2 separate regions of the Homo sapiens genome follow, and region 1 is linked to region 2. The links are contacts of gene promoters, found by promoter capture Hi-C in blood cells and fetal thymus (Javierre and others, 2016). All regions are on one chromosome and are shown on one strand. Each heading gives the region's core, a stretch centred on a gene start or on the middle of the fragment in contact. The rest is flanking DNA. Distances are from core to core; before and after follow the strand shown.

What was found. The method cuts DNA at HindIII sites, captures the fragments that hold promoters and counts their contacts. A CHiCAGO score of 5 or more calls a contact.
Region 1: the fragment with the promoter of SMIM22 here is called in contact with the fragment with the promoter of CORO7 in region 2 in 1 of 17 cell types (neutrophils); the score reaches 8.7 in neutrophils.

The regions. Positions count from the first base shown.
Region 1 is chr16:4,793,177-4,796,618 of GRCh38, reverse strand. SMIM22 (small integral membrane protein 22) reads right to left here and starts at 1,250. Exons shown (of 4, transcript NM_001253794.2): 1 at 1,170-1,250; 2 at 761-904; 3 at 571-671; 4 at 128-429. The coding sequence starts at 884. The coding sequence ends at 388. The HindIII fragment of the contact is 14,181 bases long and covers 1-3,442 here.
Region 2 is chr16:4,414,792-4,418,098 of GRCh38, reverse strand. CORO7 (coronin 7) reads left to right here and starts at 1,503. Exons shown (of 28, transcript NM_024535.5): 1 at 1,503-1,640. The coding sequence starts at 1,581. CORO7-PAM16 (CORO7-PAM16 readthrough) reads left to right here and starts at 1,503. Exons shown (of 31, transcript NM_001201479.2): 1 at 1,503-1,640. The coding sequence starts at 1,581. It overlaps LOC124903635 (a long non-coding RNA gene), which reads left to right. Exons shown (of 3, transcript XR_007064963.1): 3 at 1,138-1,374. The HindIII fragment of the contact is 33,533 bases long and covers 1-3,307 here.

The sequences.
Region 1 (3,442 bases), core at 1-2,500, 380 kb before region 2:
CAGCCTCCCGAGTAGCTGGGACTACAGGTGCCCGCCACCACGCCCGGCTAATTTTTTGTATTTTTAGTAGAGACGGGGATTCACCACGTTAACCAGGATGTTCTCGATCTCCTGACCTCGTGATCCGCCCACCTCGGCCTCCCAAAGTGCTGGGATTATAGGTGTGAGCCACCGCGCCCGGCCTGAGACCAGCTCCCCTCCCAGCTAGGTGACTGAGGATGACCTGGCACAGTCGTGCTGACTGAAGGCTTGGAGAGGCCAGGTGGCCACCTGAGTGGGGCGGCGAGTCCCGCGTCACCCACCCAGACGGGGACTGGAAGACACTGCAGACTCAGGCTCTGGGCAGACAGAAGGCTTTGTTACTGCCACCGGGCAGGAGACACAGGGTCAGGGTTCCAGGGCCAAGTTATCCACTCCCTTGGGTCTTTCCTGCACGAGAAGCACAGCGGGACCAAGCAGGTTCGCTCGTTGTTCCCTAGGGGGATGAGCACCCTTCCCGCCACTCCCCTCACCTTCCGCCTCCACCCCCAGTACAGTTCCGTGCAGGTCCCAGAGGCCGGCAGGGCTCACCTTCCAGGGGCTCACCTTCCTGGGGCTTTCCCTGCGGGGCCCGGGGGAGCTGCAGCAGCAGCAGTGGGCGACGACCAGCAGCAGCAGGAGCAGCACGGTGCCTGGGGACAGGACAGGCGTCCAGGTGTGGCCCCAACCTGGAGCCCAGGGCAGGGGGCTGGGAGGACCCAGAGGCCACAGCCACACTTACCCATGAAGGTGAGGAAAACAATGAAGGCAACAGTGTCCCATGTGGACTGGAAAAACTGGTGGCTCTTCAGTCTCCCCAGGACTTCCTGAACCGTGGCCTCCAGCTCCTCTGTGGACACAGCCATCTTGGCGTGCACCGTGCCACCTGCCCCGGTCCCCCAGAGGCTGCATCAGGATCCTGGGCTCAGCTCAGCGGGGACCACATCCAGGCTTCCCACAGCCCAGCCACTGCCCGCTCCTGGCCCAGCGCCAGCTTCCCCACCCCCTCCCACTCCACTTCTCCCTCGGCCCCAGGCCCAGCTTCTCTCCTTGCCCAGCCCTGTGGTCCTTACCCTGACAACCTTCTCCCCAGCCACTGTCATCTCCCCTCTCTCTCCCCCTGGCAGCCCAGCCCCCAGGCCCCCACCTACCTCCTAGAAGCCTCCAATTCCCCCAACCAGGCAGGTCCTGGGGAGCACAGGCTGCTTCCTGCTTCCGGCTCCACACCACCTGAGGCCTTGGCAACCAGCCCCGCCCTCCCCAGGGCCAGCAGAGGCCGCCCAGCCCAGGGGAGAGGGCCCAGGCCCAGCAGGTGCGCTCCCTGGCTCCCCACTGCTGGAGGCCCAGGGAGGAAGACGCCGGCCTGTGGCTTCTTCACTCCTGAGACTTCTTACCTTTCCTCAGTATCCCAGATATGCAGCTGGGAACACCTGTGTGCTTGGCCACTGCTGACTTCGTGAATGAAAGAGAGAGAGATGGGAGAGAAGGTGGGTGGGAGGGAGGGGGAAGGGGGAGAAAACCTACCTGCATCCCACGACCCTTGAGCAGCTAGGACAGGTGTGCCTGCATCATAGAGTTGTCCTTGGAATCCTCAACGATTGGTTCCAGCACCTCCGTGGGTACCAAAATCCACAGATGCTATAAACTCCCTGATATAAAATGAGGCAGTATTTGCATATAACCTGTGCATATACTCTATACTTTAAATCATCTCTGGATTACTTATAATACTTAATATATTTGGCCTGGCCTGGTGGCTCACACCTGTAATCCCACCACTTTGGAAGGCCAAGTTGGGCAGATCACTTACTTAGATCAGGAGCTTGAGACCGTCCTGGCCAACATGGCGAAACCCCACCTCTACTAAAAATACAAAAATTGGGCCGGGCGCAGTGGCTCACGCCTGTAATCCCAGCACTTTGGGAGGCAGAGGCGGGTCAGCTGAGGCCAGAAGTTTGAGACCAGCCTGACTGACCAACGTGGAGAAACCATGTCTCTACTAAAAATACAAAATTAGCCAGGCGTGGTGGCACATTCCTGTAATCCCAGCTACTAGGGAGGCTGAGGCAGGAGAATCACTTGAACCCGGGAGGCAGAGGTTGTGGTGAGCCGAGATCACGCCATTGCACTCCAGCCTGGGCAACAAGAGCAAAACTCCATCTCAAAAAAAAAAAAAGATAAAAATACAAAAATTGGTCGGGTGTGGTGGCTCATGCCTGTAATCCCAGCACTTTGGGAGGCCGAGGCAGGCGGATCACAAGGTCAGGAGATCAAGACCATCCTGGGTAACACGGTAAAACCCCATCTCTACTAAAAATACAAAAAATTAGCCGGCCATGGTGGCACGCGCCTATAGTCCCAACTACTCAGGAGGCTGAGGCAGGAGAATTGCTTGAACCCTGGAGGCAGAGATTGCAGTGAGCCGAGATCTCGCCACTGCACTCCAGCCTGGGTGACAGAGCAAGACTCCATCTCAAAAAATAATAATAATACAAAAATTACCCCGCTGTGGTGGCGGGCACCTGTAATCCCAGCTACTTGGGAGGCTGAGGCAGGAGAATCGCTTGAACCCAGGAGGCGGAGCCTGTAGTGAGCCAAGATCATGTCACCGCACACCCGCCTGGGTGACAGAGCAAGACTATCTCAAAAAAAATAAATTGGCTGGGTGCGGTGGCATACTCCTGTAATCCCAGCTAATCGGGAGGCCAAGGCAGGAGAATCGCTTGAACCCAGGAGGCAGAGGCTGCAGTGAGCCAAGATGGCACCACTGCACTCTAGCGTGGGTGACAGAGCAAGACTCCATCTCAAGAAAAAATTGTATACATATATTTATTTAATATAATGTATGCTAGGTAAATAATTGTTACATTGTATAGGGAACAGTAAGCAAAAAAGTCTGTACATGTCCAATAGAGATGTGATTTGTTTCCAAATATTTTCTGTCTGTGGTTGGCTGAAGCCACAGATGTGGAACCTGTGGATACGGAAGGCCAGCTGTACTAGGACTCTTCACTGTCCTTATTTTCTCTATTTTACTACTTGAAAATATCAGCTAATGTGGGGCTCTGCATCGAGCACTGTGCTGTGTCACCTGGTTTATTCCTCATAGCAATCCTAAAGTGGGTATTATTGCTTTTTCCATTTTACAGATGAGGAAACGGAGGCCTAGAGAAGTTTAGCCATTAGCCCGTCACACACCTAATGTATCCATGTCCCAATGCTGCCGTAACACTACCACAAACTCTGTGGCTTCAAACAACACAAATGTATTGCCCTATGGTTCTGAAGGTCAGAGTCTAAAATGGGTCGACCAGGCTGTGTTCATCCTGAAGGTTCTAGGGCAGAGTCCATCTTTTGCCTTGTCCAGCTTCTAGAGGGTGGTGGCATTCCTGGGCTTGTGGTCTCCCATCCCTCCACCCTCTGC
Region 2 (3,307 bases), core at 254-2,753:
TGCTGGGATTACAGGCGTGAGCTACCGCGCCCGGCCAACCTGATGATTTTCTAAAAACCTTTTTGGACTGGGCGCAGTGGCTTATGCCTCTAATCCCAGCACTTTGGGAGGCTGAGGCAGGTGGATCACTTGAGGTCAGGAGTTTGAGACCAGCCTGGCCAACATGGCAAAATCCCATCTCTACTAAAAATACAAAAATTAGGAGTAGTGGCGCACACCTGTAATCCCAGCTGCTTGGGAGGCTGAAGCAGGAGAATCGCTTGAACTCAGGAGGTGGAGGTTGCAGTGAGCTGAGATGACACCACTGCACTCCAGCCTGGGCAACAGAGTGAGACTCTGTCTCAAAACAAACAAACAAAAAGCCTTTTCAATAAACCACAAGTGACTTTGGTTCACAGTAAATACACTTCTGCCCGAACTAAGATAAAATGTAAGCATTGCTTTTCAAACCTTAGAAATGCAAGAATCAGCTGGGTGCGTTGGCTCATTCCTATAATCCCCACACTTTGGCAGGCCAAGTTGGGAGGACTGCTTGAGTCTCGTTCGAGACCAGCCTGACCATCATGGTGAAACCCCGTCTCTTACTAAAAATAAAAAATTAGTTGGGCGCGGTGGCAGGCGCCTGTAATCCCAGCTATTCGGGAGGCTGAGGCAAGAGAATTGCTTGAACCCGCGAGGCAGAGGGTGCAGTGAGCTGAGATCGCGCCACTGCACTCCAGCCTGGGTGACAGGGACTCCGTGTCAAATAAATGAATAAATACTAAAGAAAAATTAAAAGCTATTATTATTATTATTTTTAGAGGCAGGGTCTCTTTCTGTCTCCCAGGCTGGAGTGCAGTGGCACGGTCACAGATAACTGCAGCCTCGACCTCTTGGGCTCAAGGGATACTCCTGCCTCAGTCTCCCAAAGTTCGGGATTACAGACCTGAGCCACCGCGCCTGGCCGGATGCAGAGCGCCTGGCCGGATGCAGAGGCTTTTGAGTAGGCCCGGTGGACAGGGATTTGCTTTAGACCTGGGCCCCTGTTCCCCCTCTGCCTCTTACCACTGGTGTGACCTGGGGACCGACAGTTTACACTCTCCTTTAGCCGGGGGTTTCCTGTCTCTGAAATGGAGCTAATTTCTCCCCTCTCTACAGGAAGAGGTAGATAGTGCTGGAAGGCGTGCTAGGTACACCGCAAAGACTCCACAGCAAATCCTGCACACAAAATCGCGAATGCTGCAGCCGAGACCCCACGCAAGCAAGCACCGCAGGAGACGTGGGCTGACAGCTGCGCCCCACGTGACCTCCCACCCGCGCCAGTCCGTCCCCTCGGTATCAGGGCGTGGCCTCGCGGGGCGGCCGTACCTGGATTGGCCGGGAGGCGGGACCGGTGGTGCGCGCGCGAAAGGAGAGGGGCTTGGGGGCGTGGCCCAGGGGGCCGGAGACGGCTGCGATTGGCAGTGGGGCGCGCCGGGGGCGTGACCGCGGCATTGGGTCCCGGGTGGGGCCGAGGCAGCGGGAGTCGCGGTTGCTCAGCGTGCACCTGAGACCCGACGCCCGGGGTCCTCGAAGACGCGTCCGCCGCCGTGCCCGTCGCCATGAACCGCTTCAGGGTGTCCAAGTTCCGGCACACCGAGGCTCGGCCGCCCCGCCGCGAGGTGAGTCCGGCCCGAGGACCGGGCGCTGTCGCCTCGGGCCCCGTCCGGCTGCCCCTCCCCCTGCCCGGACCCCACAGGGGTGCCCTCCAGGGCCGTCTGGAACCCCGAGACCTCCATCCCCGGGGAACCCCCCTTCAGGCCAGGGCCCCGGCGTCCGGGCCGTTTCGTCGCCGCCGGAGGGCAGAGTCCGGCACTCCCGTGACTCGCTCTGGCGCTCGGTGACCCTGGCGGTCTGCCCGCCTCGCCCACCTCGCCCCGGGACCCCCGAGGCGGCGCAGCCCTCCTAGCCGGGGCCCAGGCCTGCGAGGCCGCCTGCCTTCCCAGCTTCCGGTCGGCCTCGCCGGGAGCCGGGGCTCGGGGCGCTGCCGGCGCCTGGCTCCTCCTCCCTGCCGCCCCGGGTCGCCCCTGCCCCTGGCTGGGCTGTGGGGAGACGCCCCTCTCTCCTCTGGCCCCGGCGAGCCCAAGTGTGTCAGTGGTGGGGAGGGAGCCCCTCGGCCGCACGCGCCCCTCCCTCGGGTTTCCGCCGGTGCTTCCTCCTCTCGCCGCTGGCGCAAGCTCTTTCTTTATCTCGGTGATGCTGCCACGGCTGGGTGGGGCCTGGGGAAGCCTGAGCAGGTGGAGCCCCAAAGAATTGCTGAGCCAGGTGCCGGGAGACCCTTCGGACCCCCGAAACGGCAGGAGGACTGATGAGGGGTGCGCCTTGGAAACGATGTCAGCTCTGCTCTTCCGCTTTCCGTGTTATTTGTAAGGCCTGGGAGTGTCCTCCGATAACTGGGCCTAGGAGTTGACCTCAAGTGACCCCATCAGGGTCCCAGAGCAAGTCAGGGCAGTCTGGGTAGAGGTTCCGTTTTTGTAGTGTGGACTATATTTCCTCTGCTTCCACTTTATGCTGTGCTAAGCTGCTGGAGACATCCCGGTGAACACAACGGCATTTTCCTTCCCCTGTGGCACTTGTAGCCTCATGAGGGAGACAGCAAGCAGACAAACAAGAGCATTGGAGGTTTTCATAACGACATTGAAGAACACACATGAGGGACTGGGATGGAGAATGGAGGGGGCCAGTCTCAGTAGCGTGGTCAGGAAAGGCTGCCTGGAGTAGATGGCATTTTAGCTGAGGCCAGAAGGGTGAGAATTGAGAAAGAGCCTGGTGGAGAAATGGAAAGTGAGCATGAGTGGATGGAGGGGATGGCCGGAGCAGTATGGTGACAGATGAGTCCAGAGTGGTCCTGCAGAACCCAAGGGCCACCGGAAGAAGTTGGGTTTTATTCTGATTGCAGTGCAGAGCCATTGAAAAGTTAGGGGGAGGGGCTGGATACCATGACTCACGGTAATCCCAGTACTTTGGGTGGACTGCTTTGAGCTCAGGAGTTCGAGACCAGCCTGGGCAACATTGCGAAACCCCTCTGAACAACAAGTTAAAGAAAAAAAAATTAGCCAGGTGTGGTGACTCACTCCCGTGGTCCCAGCTACTTGGGAGGCTGAGGTTGGAGGATCTCTTGAGCCGAGGAAGTGGAGGTTGCAGTGAGCCGAGATTGTGCCACTACACACCAGCCTGGGCAATAGAGTGAGACACTGTCTCAAAAAAAGAAAAAAACAAACAAGAAAAGTTAGGAGGAGGTACCTAGGTTTGCATCAAGACAGCCGGTGGCTCTGAGTGCAGTTAAGTA